Linked DNA regions of Homo sapiens: all the other regions are linked to region 2. The links are contacts of gene promoters, found by promoter capture Hi-C in blood cells and fetal thymus (Javierre and others, 2016). All regions are on one chromosome and are shown on one strand. The core of a region is centred on a gene start or on the middle of the fragment in contact, and the rest is flanking DNA. Distances in the headings are between cores, read along the strand shown. Region 1 overlaps RAPGEF1 (Rap guanine nucleotide exchange factor 1). Region 2 holds the start of POMT1 (protein O-mannosyltransferase 1). Region 3 holds the start of LOC105376300 (a long non-coding RNA gene).

Evidence for each region. The method cuts DNA at HindIII sites, captures the fragments that hold promoters and counts their contacts. A CHiCAGO score of 5 or more calls a contact.
Region 1: a contact is called between a fragment that was not itself captured here and the fragment with the promoter of POMT1 in region 2, in 1 of 17 cell types (neutrophils). The highest score is 5.9, in neutrophils.
Region 3: a fragment that was not itself captured here is called in contact with the fragment with the promoter of POMT1 in region 2 in 1 of 17 cell types (non-activated CD4 T cells); the score reaches 6.1 in non-activated CD4 T cells.

Annotation. Positions count from the first base shown.
Region 1 is chr9:131,730,584-131,734,476 of GRCh38, reverse strand. All of the region lies in intron 1 of RAPGEF1 (Rap guanine nucleotide exchange factor 1), which reads left to right. Among named protein-coding and RNA genes, the nearest start is that of RAPGEF1, 7.5 kb to the left of the region's middle. RefSeq lists silencers at 601-895, 1,272-1,321. The HindIII fragment of the contact is 9,723 bases long and covers 1-3,893 here.
Region 2 is chr9:131,500,962-131,504,891 of GRCh38, reverse strand. It overlaps POMT1 (protein O-mannosyltransferase 1), which reads right to left and starts at 1,974. Exons shown (of 20, transcript NM_001077365.2): 1 at 1,819-1,974; 2 at 552-703. The coding sequence starts at 673. RefSeq lists enhancers at 384-453, 464-543, 1,024-1,083, 455-1,320, 1,321-2,188 and 1 more and silencers at 1,654-1,803, 1,874-2,073. The HindIII fragment of the contact is 12,581 bases long and covers 1-3,788 here.
Region 3 is chr9:131,348,274-131,352,202 of GRCh38, reverse strand. LOC105376299 (a long non-coding RNA gene) reads right to left here. Exons shown (of 4, transcript XR_001746959.3): 3 at 3,333-3,602. It overlaps LOC105376300 (a long non-coding RNA gene), which reads left to right and starts at 1,772. Exons shown (of 4, transcript XR_930401.3): 1 at 1,772-2,032; 2 at 3,051-3,155. RefSeq lists an enhancer at 1-103. The HindIII fragment of the contact is 549 bases long and covers 1,104-1,652 here.

The DNA.
Region 1 (3,893 bases), core at 615-3,114, 230 kb before region 2:
GGCAGGGAGCCAGCAGGAACCTGTCCCTGGAGGCCACAGTCCAGGGGTAGAATCAGAACGATCTTGAACATCTCTGCAATTTCCTGTGGTTTTCAGAATGCATTTATAGACTACCTCATTTCATTTCATCCTCACAACAGCCCAGGGGGTGAGGGCAGGGCGGAGTATCCCTCTTTTGCCCCTCAGGGCAGCTAAGGCCCAGGGAAATTTGGTTGTTTGCCCAAGGTCATGCCCTGGAGAAGTGGAATGGGGAACCGGCCCCCTTTCTTGCCTTTATAGAGCACTGGTTAGAGCCTCCCTGGTTGCTGGGGACACAGCTTTCCATCTTAATTCTTCAGGCTTCTCAATCTCTTTTCTGATCTTTGAAAAAAAAGATCTACCAATGAAATTAAGGGAGGCTCACTACAGTCTTTAGACTGCGTCTGATACTCGTAATACTAGTCACATTAACAGTGCTGTAGAGAGATAAGAAATAGCACTAATGCCAGCTAAGTGTGTTTTTAGAAAAATCAACCACAGCAACCCCAAATGTTTCCTGGTCTCCAGAGCAGCTGTTGGCAGAGGCGGTTTGAATGGGATTCCTTGTAGCCAAGAGACCTTATAGGAGGTCTGTAGAGATGAGTCATGTGTGAGCTTGCAGAAAAATGTCTCCCAAAGTAGCCCGGATTGGAGATTGCCTTGAGTGCCAGGCTGGGTCTTACCTCAGGCCAGCTGAGCGTGTTCCCCATGGCCAGGATAAGATCACGCTCTGGAAAGAGGAGAGGCCTGACAACCCACCGCCTGCCCCACCCCGCGGCCGCCTCGCCGCCGGGACAGGTGTTCCTCTGACTCGTCACCCGTCTTGCCCCAAAGGCTGTTTTATGAGTAAATAAATAAAACCCACCGTTTGTGAATTATTAAGGGATCTGTCATCCAGCAGGCCAGTCATCTTAGTTTCTGGTCATCTGTTTGAGAACATCTTAGTTGTGTCCTTGGGTGATTCTTACCCTTTCCTGGGGCTTATTTTCCCCATCAGTGCCAGGAAGGAGTGGGACTCAAAAGGAGCGCTCCTCTGTTTGTGTTTTTAAGCTGTAGCCACTGCCCCCGCCAACCCCGCACCACCCCCCCCCCCGCCCCCGCCCCGGCTTTTTTAAATTTTAAGTTCTGGAATACATGTGCTGAACGTTCAGGTTTGTTACATAGGTATACATGTGCCGTGGCGGTTTGCTGCACCTATCAACCCGTCATCTAGGTTTGAAGCCCCGCATGCGTGACTGCAGGCCCTTTTTTATACATAAGAAGGCCATTAGGTAACCACTAATGGGGAAGCCTCTTTGAATGCAGTCCTTCCTGCTTAGCTGTGGCCGAGGCTCCTCCTTGGACCCTCCACCCCAAACACAATGTGAAAACCCACTTCCTCGATGCTCTCACAGCTGCCTCTACCAAAATCAACTTCCTCTGGGCTCTTTGTGCCTTCTCTTCCTCTAACATATAGTAAATTCCATGGAAATGCCCCAGATCAATGCTTGAGTAGAATGATGTTTCACTCATTCAAAATCAAAGCCCCAGTTTCCTTTCTGCAAGTTAAAAAATCAACAAGTGAAATGTTAAACAGATGATTAGCTCCGTGAGGGAGTGTGTCTACCACTGCGGTGCCATTACGGTGCCTTGAACGCAATAGGTGCTCAGTAAATACTTACTAAAAGAATGAGTGAATTTAGTTAATATTATCATAGAATGAATTTTAGTTTCTGGTTCCAAGTCTCAAATTATCTTTAGACGTAGCTTATTGTGGTTTCAAATTGCCAATTAGGATGTTTCTTGGTACATTAGTAGGACCAATATCTGATCAGTGGTGTGCAGTTAGTTGGGGGTTCTGTGTTTTCCTGTAGTCCTCTGAACACTAATGATGAGGTTAGGATCAAATTCCCAGAACACCACTGGGAGAACGCCAGGACACCGTGAAGGCTGAGCCGCCACTCGGTTCTGATGCCGCATCCATTGGTCAGTGCACGTTCTTTGAGCTTCCACTTGAGTGCACGTTCTTTGAGCTTCCACTTGAGTGCATGTTCTTTGAGCTTCCACTTGTAGTGACTGCCTGGTTCTTTGGGATGTGCAGGAGCAAAGCGCTCTTAGGTAATGCTCGTTCTGCCCTGTGTTTACAAACCAAGGCCTGTGCCAGCTCTACTCAGCCTGACACCCATAATGAGCACCATCCCAGGAATCCCTGTCCCTACTTGTTATTTTTTTTTTTTTCAGTTGGCCTTTGAATGTGATTTAGGACTGGCTTCCTGCAGCATTACTCTCTTTTCCCAGGATGACTGTGCAGCGTGTGCTGTCTAGGGCTGGGGTGCAGGCTGTTGGTGTGCCTCTGGCACCCCCTTCCTTCTTTGTCAAGAGGCATGGGCAGTATTTTCTTGCTACTTCCCCCTCCTCTGTGAGCTAAGGTACAGGGGGGGAGGTTCATCTGAATTTATTAGAAATCTGCTGTCTGCTGGTCACAATTCCTTTCTCCCACTTTCTTCTCCCAGGCTGTAGTTTGAAAGACAGGTGACAATTCTCTGAACCCAAGTCCCACCCTGCAGTCTGGACTGCTGCTTCCCGGAACACCACGACTCCTGTAACAGCTTAGACTTCTGTCCCCACAGTCCCTTAGCAGCAGCTTTCTCTTTGCTTTTCACTGGCTTGCCCAAACCACACAGTGACTTTACTGCATATTAAGTTTTGTGATCAGGCGATTCTGCAGTGCTTTTAAAGCGTAGAAATGGAGCACTGAGCACAGGATGCTGTGTGGTTTGCCCAGGGCTGGGTTCAGAGGGGCGGATTTCAGGCATTTGCTCTATAGCTTTTAAAATTTGTGCCACTGATGTGGACCTGACAGATGCGATTCCCAGCCACACACTGTATTGTTAAAAACGGAGCAGGAGTGTGACACTGACAGTAACTGAGAGAAGGAAGGACATGGAATGAGAAGAGAGGACAGCTGACATCCAGTGGAATGTGACCGTGTTAAATAGCCACTTAGCTGACCCCAAACGAGCAAACAAACAAAACCCCTGGTTGGAAACAGTGGTTGTATTTATTTGCTGGTTATCACATGCGCCCATCCTCCTTCAAGTGATGGTTCTGAATAAATAGATGGATGATTGTTCATGAGTCATGGAATTGGCTACTCTCAACCCCTCCTTTCAATAATAAATACAAATAATAGTAGTAGCTGATGTTCATTAGGCACTTACCACGTGCTGTACCAGGCTCGCTTCTGTATATTTTACACTTGTGGTTGCATTTAATCCTTACAATAGGAGAAAGGTACTGTTAACTGTTCTCATCCTACAGAGGAGGAGACTAAGACACAGAGCTTTTCTTTGAGACCTGAAAGAGTTAACATTTGCACATAGTCATATACTGAGTTGGGGCAAAGTTAGGACTAAAGCCCATCTGACTATTCCCCATGCATCTATATTTTTATTGATTCTGATATTATTCTCTTGGCTGTGTGACTTGGGTGAAAATGAGCCTTCATGTTTCCAGGGACCCCTCTGCCACAGAGGCAGCTGCTGCACTAACAGGACACCCCATCATCCTGAGGATTCCTTCAGAAGACAGCTCTCCTCCTGACTGTCCTGCTGGAGCTCACAGGGGGCTGCGGAAGCCTTGCTTCTGGCTGGGTGACCGTGGGCAAATTGCTTAATCTCCTGAGCCTCAGGTGCCTTTGTTGTAATTTGGTAGGGTGGATAAACCCACCCCGGAGCCCTTTCTAATGCTGGTTCTTCTTCTTTTTTTTTTTTTTTTTTTTTGAGATGGAGTCTCACTCTGCTGTTGCCCAGGCTGGAGTGCAATGGGGTGATCTCGGCTCACTGCAACCTCCCCCTCCCAGGTTCAAGCAATTCTTCTGCCTCAGCCTCCCAAGT
Region 2 (3,930 bases), core at 725-3,224:
GCAGAGAATTGCTTGAACCCAGGAGGCAGAGGTTGCAGTGAGCCGAGATGGCACCACTGCACTCCAACCTGGGCGACACAGCAAGACTCCGTCTCAAAAACACACACACACACACACACACACACACACACACACATACACACATTAATCAGTTAATAAAGAGCCCTTCAATAATAACAGCAATCACTTCCCATTATGACAAAAACACATTCTAAAAAGTGCTCTCAACAGTGAAGACTTACTTCCAAATCCATTAATCCTCTGCCGTCCAGACTTTAAAACTGTTACTTAAGGCTGGCAACCAGATTTTCCTCTACTGCACCCCTTTAATGGGCCAAATTTCACCTGTTACAGACTCAGAAGGCAAGACCTAAAAGGTGTACTCTGCTGGGGCTGTCCTGGGGACAGACTGGTCTCTCCTCTCACTGCCAAAAACACCTATCACCAAGAAGCCAGGATTTCACTCTCCCATTTATGCTATTCAGTAAGGGCGCCTCCTGTCACAAAGTACAATTCTAGATTCACCCTGGGAATGGAGTCATTTAGCTTACACCACAGCCCGCGGGTAGGTGAGTCGCCACAGCCGGCTCAGTAACCCCATCCCAGTCAGGGCCACAAGGCTCAAGTTGATGTCAGCCGTCACCACTACAGGGCGCTTCAAAAATCCCCACATCTTGTAGAAAAGCGGGCTCAGGCAGACGCCCTAGAAAAGAAGGGAGGAGCCGTGGTCCATGAGGGCTCACGAGAGGCTACAGAAGGGATCCCCAGCCACCCGGCTCCCGGACACACGAGGAGAACCACAGCACAGCCGGGCTGCTGAGAAAGACCGAAGTTCCTGGAGCCTTGGTTCAGGTAGACATGTGGGGTGAGGGGCACTAGCAGTGAACTCGGGTGGGAATTCAGGGGATCTCAGGACTGGACATTCACTCCTTTCAACAACTCATTCCACAAAACCTGCCGAGCACGTCTTGGGCGCGAGAACACTGCTAAGGAACGCCAGGGTTTCTCCCCTCCCTCCCCGACGACCAGAAGCCCACAGTGCGGCCACAGCTACCTGACCCTGGGCAGCTCCTGGGTGCCATCTCAGCTGCTTACAGCCCAGGGACCCCAACCTGGCCGAGCCTCGGGGCCTCCTCATCTCTCCTCAAGGATGCATCTGCCCCCAGTGCCTCCCTGCCTTCTATCCCAGCGGCACATCATCCCCGGGTGCTCCCTTTCTCGCCTGGAGGGTGCATTTGCACCCTGCGCCCCCACGTTCTCCTCCAGGCTTCATCTTCCCTTGAGCTCCGCTTCTCTTGAGGCTGCATCAGGCCTGGGACACCCTGTCTCACACCAAAGCCGCATCTGGCCGTTGGCGCCCCGCTGGTCTCCTCAGGCCCCATCTACCCTGGACGCGCCCTTCCCTCCCTGAGCTGCATCTGCCTTGAGCGCCTTCGTCCCAAAAGGTCCCATCTGTCCTGGGAGTGCCTCCTCTCCCCTTGCAGACCGCATCTCCCTGGCCGGCCCTTCTTCCCCACAGGCCGCACCTGTCCCGTCCACCAACTCCCGAGGCTGCGTCGGCCCCAGCTCCGTCCTCACCCTGAGACTGCACCCGCAGCACGCCCTTCCTCCCTAGGGCTGCACGCGCCACGGAGTTCTTACTTCGGGGCTCGGCCGCCCGAACGCCGCATCTGCCCGGGCCCGAACCCCGCCCCCAGCTCCGGAAAGACGGGGACGCCCCCGGCCCCAGCCCGTCCGCAAGCCAGGGACCCGCGTCCGGCACTGACGGACTCCCCCAAGTCCGGGCTGGGCTCTCGTCCCCGGTGTCCCCAAATGTACCCGCGTTTCTCCGAGTCCACACAGAGCCGCGCCCGGCTCCCGGCAACGCCTCGGAACCGTCCGACTGGGCCGACGGTTGGGGGTGAGGCCGCTCGGCACTCCGCACCACCCACCGCCCTGCTCAACGTTCGATTCACCGAGCCTGCGGGGCCAGACGGGCAGCAGCGCGCGTGCGCACTGGGAGAGGGTGACGCGCGTGCGCAGCGGGCGAGGGCGCCGGTCCCGGAGGAGAGGCAGGTGTGAAACGCGGCGACCTCCCCTCTCTCGGGTGCTACTGTTTTGTGTGCCAGGATTTCTGTGTACTCTAAGCAGACGTGCAGATTTTAAAAAGCGCAGTGGGCTCCCACCCATCTTCTGCTCCTTGCTTTTTCACTCCATCTGGCGTGAAGATCTTAATTCTGCGTCTGCACAACGGCGTTCTGCCGGGCGCGCCAGTTTGCTCCTAGTTTTTTTCTTTTCTTTTCTTTTCTTTTTTTTTGAGACGGAGTTTCGCTCTTGTTGCCCAGGCTGGAGTGCAATGGCGCGATCTCGGCTCACCGCAACCTCCGCTTCCCGGGTTCAAGCGATTCTCCTGCCTCAGCCTCCCGAGTAGCTGAGATTGAAGGCGCACGCCACCACGCCCGGTTAATTTTTGTATTTGTAGTAGAGACAGGGTTTCACCATGTTGGCCAGGCTGGTCTCGAACTCCTGACCTGAAGTGATCCGCCCACCTCGGCCTCCCAAAGTGCTGGGATTACAGGCGTGAGCCACTGCGTCCGACCTTAATTTTTTTTTTAAGACACGGGGTCTCGCTCTGTCGCCCAGGCTGGAGTACAGTGGCAGGACCACGGCTTGCTGCAGCCTCGACCTCTCTGCCCGAAGCGATCCTCCCTCCTCGGCCTCCAGAGCAGCTGAGACCACAGGCACGTGCCCCCACGCCCGCGGGCGCTCCTAGTTTCCTTGCCGAAAAACATCGATGCCACGATCCTGCTTGCACATACATCTAGCGGTGAAGTGGCTGAGGGTAAGGGCATTTAAAACGGACCTAGGGCCGGGGGCGGTGGCTCACGCCTGTAACCCCAGCACTTTGGGTGGCCGAGGTGGGAGGATCCGTGAGCCCGCTTGAGTCCAGGAGAGCCTGGGCAACACAGCGAGACCCCGTCTCTACAAAAAAATACAAAAATTAGCGGGGCCCCTTGGCGTCTGCCTGCAGTCCCAGCTACAAGGGAGGCTGAGGCAGGAGATCACTTGGGGCAGAGAGGTCGAGGCTGCAGTGAGCCTTGGTCTCACCACTGCACTCCAGCCTGGACTACAAAGTGAGACCGTCTCAAAACAAAAAACAAAACCAAAAAAACCTGGACATCAGTGGGGGCTGCATGACCATCAGAGGCTCCAGTGGGGGCATCTCCCCTAAACTCCGTGGCAGAAGACTGGAGGCTTCTTCCTCCATTCCCAGGGCTCCTCCTCATCCATCAGCCTCTCCAGCCCCCTCTGCTGAGGGTCAAGAGCCTTCCCAAAGGCCTGCTTTGGAGCAGACATGGTACTTTTGGTTGGGTCAATGCACCCCTTCCCATGTTTTCCCTGAACAGTCGGCACCCAGAGCAGGGTAACTGACAGCAACGCAACCAGGCTGATGGATCACTCTTCTCAGCCTCGCTCCTTCTTGATCTCCTGGTCTATTTGTATGTTAATCTATACAGACCAAAAGGGCACACTGCAGGTTTAATAACCTTCATTATGGTTCTTGGCTGCCTGCAAGACTTTTTTTCCATGTTGGGCAACATAGCATTAGATGACACCAGTTAGAATTTCGTGGTTACTTCTTTATGGCTTACCCTTGAGGGGTTATGTGACTCACCCAAGATCCCACAGAGAGGCAAGGAGCTGGGGCTCACCTGGGTTTGTGGCCAGAGCCTGCAGGCAACTGTATTTACAGTGGGCAGGGAGGGTTCCCTGGGCCCCAGGAGGGAGTGGGGCTGGGCTGTTAAGCTTTGGTTCATGCCATGCTAACAGTGGTGGTGCCTCAGGACTTACAGCCTCCATCTTGCAAGCCCCCAACCTTAGGACTAGCCTCTTTCAGGGCTGGTCTCCGTTTGAGATTTTGTGAGCCACCTGTCCCTAGGGAGCAGTAAA
Region 3 (3,929 bases), core at 129-2,628, 150 kb after region 2:
CATGTGTGTGCTAATGTCTTTGTTTTGTTTTGTTTAAATAAGAGACAGGGCCTCACTGTGTTGCCCAGACTGGGTTCAGGTCATCCCCTTGCCTCAGCCTCCCGTAGGTGGGACTGCAGGCATATCTTACCTCACCTGGCTTGTGTCTCAGTTTTTAACAAAAAACTTTTAAAAGTAAAAAAATAGGCCAGGTATGGTGGCTCACACCTGTAATCCCAGCACTTTGGGAGGTTGAGGTGGTTGGATCACAAGGTCAGGAGATTGAGACCATCCTGGCCAACATGGTGAAACCCCGTCTCTAATAAAAATACAAAAATTAGGCGGGTGTGATGGCGCGTGCCTGTAATTCCAACTACTCAGGAGGCTGAGGCAGGAGAATCACTTGGACCTGGGAGTTGGAGGTTGCAGTGAGCCAAGATCACGCCACTGCACTCCAGCCTGGTGACAGAGCGAGACTCCGTCTCAAAATAAATAAATAAATAAAAATAAAAAATAAAAGTAAAAAAATAAAAAATAAGAAATTTTAAAAATAGAAAAAAGATTATAGAATAAGGATATAAAGAAAATATTTTTGTACAGCTATGCAATATATTTGCATTATAAACTAAGCATTATTGTAAGAGTGAAAAAGTTCAAAAAAGTTTATAAAGTAAAAATTTTAAAAGTTACATTAAGGGTTAATTTATTATTGAAGAAAGACTTTTTTTTTTTTAAGTTTTTAAAATTTTTCACATACAGACAGGGTCTTATTATGTTGCCCAGGCTGGTCTCAAAGGAATCCTCTAATCTTAGCCTTCCAAAGTCCTGGGATTACAAGCATGAGCCACCATGCCCGGCCAAGAAAGAATTTTTTTTTTTTTTTTGAGGCAGGATCTTGCTCTGTGGACCAGGCTGGAGTGCAGTTGCACGATCATGGCTCACTGCAGCCTCCAACTCCTGGGGTCAAGCAGTTTTCCAAACTCCTCCTGGGCCTCCTAAAGTGCTGGGATTACAGGCCTGAGCCACCATGCCCGGCCAGCCACTGTTCATTATCAGCGGCAGTACACAGCTCTTCTCTCCCAAGGCTGGGGTATCTAAGAACAGGCTTCCCTCATAGCTAAGCTTCAGGGCCACCCCAGCGCCAGAATAACCACATTCTGCAGGGGAGAAATCAGGACGTCCCCAGCCACAGTGGTGCCAGCCTCTGACCACACTCTTTCAGGCTGGGGGTGAAGCAGTCGATAAGGACCAGCCCTGTCCCTGGCCTGAGTCATAGTTTGTTTCCCGGGCCTTTCCATGAAAGGCTCCACCGTGGCCGGGCGCAGTGGCTCACGCCCGTAATCCCAGCACTTTGGGAGGCCGAGGCGGGCGGATCACGAGGTCAGGAAATCGAGACCATCCTGGCTAATAGGGTGAAACCCCGTCTCTACTAAAAATGCAAAAAAAAAAAAAATTAGCCGGGCGTGGGCGTGGTAGTGGGCGCCTGTAGTCCCAGCTACTCGGGAGGCTGAGGCGGGAGAAAGGCGTGAACCCGGGAGGAGGAGCTTGCAGTGAGCCGAGATCGCGCCACTGCACTCCAGCCTGGGCGACAGAGCGAGACTCCGTCACAAACAAACAAACAAACAAACAACAAGCAAACAAAAAACAAGAAAGGCTCCACCGTGACCTAAGCTTTCTCCATGCTCTGGGCTCAGGGATGGGGTGATGCTGTCTCAATCAGGCCTCCAAGGCTGCTCTTGGGGTGGCTCCGGGCCTCATGGCTACACAGAGGGGAAGAGGGGTTGAGCCGCAGAGAGATTAGAAGCTGGGAAATGGAGCCCACAAGGAAAGACTGAGTCCACGGACTGGGGAGCGCCGGGTAGAATTGGAACATCTCCCCCAGGGCGGAAGGAGAGCAGGAACAGCCCCAGCGGAACAGCCGTAGCCGGGCCATCGTCCTCAGACTTGCATCTCCCTGCAAGCGCCCGGGCCTTCCTGCCTGTCAGCCTTGCACTCGCAGCTCCCTCTGCCGGCCACACTCTTCCTCCCTCCTTTCTGGTCAAGTCCCGCTCAGGTCTGGGGGCTCTGCTTCACTGTCACTCCCCCAGGGAAGCCCTCCTTGGCGACCGCCGCTCCACACGCCCTCATAACGCCATGGGCTTCTCCTTCCGAGCCCCACTACCATGGCTATGACCTGGCGAAGTGGCCATTTATATGTTTCAACATGAGTCTCCTCGGCTAGACCGTGAGCTTGTTGGGGGAGGGAAGAGGTCTGTCCTGTCCATGGCTGATTTCCAGCTGGGTGCTCAGCGCGCAGTTCCTGTTTGCTGAGTGCAGGAAGGACCTCAGCCCTTTCCCCAGGGACCCGGGAACCCATGAGCTGAGGTCCTGGTTTGGGGCCATTGCCACTTGTCCCCTTTCCATCCCGTCCATTCTGGGGAGGGGCTGCCTGTGCCATCAGGGGATTTTGCATCTTTTCCTGGGGAGGGAAAGGTGCCACCCCTAGCAGCCTGGCACCCCCAGGCTGGAAGAGCAGAAAGCCTCAGACTCCAGGAGGAGCAGGTGGCGCCAGAAAGGCCACACATCCTCAGGGATGTAGACCTTCACTCAGCCCTCGAGCCTGGGCTTGGGCTCAGGGCTCAGGCTTCCTACCTGAATGCAGCACACCCCGCCCATGGGGTTGTCTCACCCAGAAAGTAAACCTGAGTCTGATGAAGCCTCTAGAGCTGCACTGTCCCATCCAGAAGCTGCTAGCTAATTAATTCTAATTAATAACAACTAAAATTGAGGACTCACTTCCTCTATCACACTAGTCACTTTTTTGTTGTGTGTATGTGAGACAGGGTCTTGCTCTGTTGCCCAGGCTGGAGTGCAGTGGTGCAATTTTGGCTCACTGCAGCCTCAAACTCCCAGGCCTCAAGTGATCCTCCCACCTCAGCCTCCTAAGTAGCTGGGGCTACAGGTGTGCACCACCACGCCTGGGTTATTTTTAAATTTTTTGTAGAGATGGGGGTGGCGGGGTCTCCCTATGTTGCCCAGGCTGGCCTCCATCTCCTGGGCTCAAACACTCCTCCCTTCTCGGCCTCCAAAAGCTCTGGGATTACAGACATGAACCAGTGTGCCCAGCCCCCTCCCATTTTCCAGGGAGCCTGCTGCCGCCCAGCCTCCCTGGAGCTTGCTGTGCTGTTCAGGAGCAGGTGAAGAGGCCAAGAGGGTTGGGGGATGAGGGAGGCAGAGGGGCAGGTGTGAGGGGTTTGGGAGGGTTGAGAGAGGGGAAGGGAGAGCAAGGGCTGTGGGGGAGAGGACACCGAGTATGGCTGTTTGGCCCGCAGCGCCCCCCACCCCACCCCTCTGTAAGTCTCCAGAAAACGCACCTTTTCTTTCCACAGCCCTGGGAGTTGATGTGTCTGGAAGGCTCCATCTGAGGTTGGCCAGAAGGTGGCGGCCACAGGGTCTGGCTTTGTTCCACTTTCAGAAATCTGGGGCCTTCACACCACCCCAAGGTCCTGGAGGGTTGGCTGCCTGGGTTCCTTTTGACGTTCCTAGCCTCACAGGCAGAGCCAGCCCAGATGGGAGTTCAGCAAATATTTGTTGAGTGAATTGATAAGATCCACCTGGGCCCAGTGTAGGGGGCTCCAGACAGCCTGGAAAGGTCACGGGCAGACAGTGAGGGTGGGAGGGGAATGGCAGAGGCTGGACGTTCTAGAGCCTGGACTCCACTCTTCCCTTTGCTTCTGGAACAGGCATGTCTGGGTTTCTTTCTTTCTTTTTTTTTTTTTGAGATGGAGTCTCACCCTGTTGCCCAGGCTGGAGTGCAATGGCGCGATCTCGGCTCACTGCAACCTCCACCTCCCAGGTTCAATCAATTCTCCCGCCTCAGCCTCCCAAGTAGCTGGGACTACAGGTGCACACCACCATGCCCGGCTAAATTTTTGTATTTTTTTTTGAGACGGAGTCATGCTCTGTCGCCC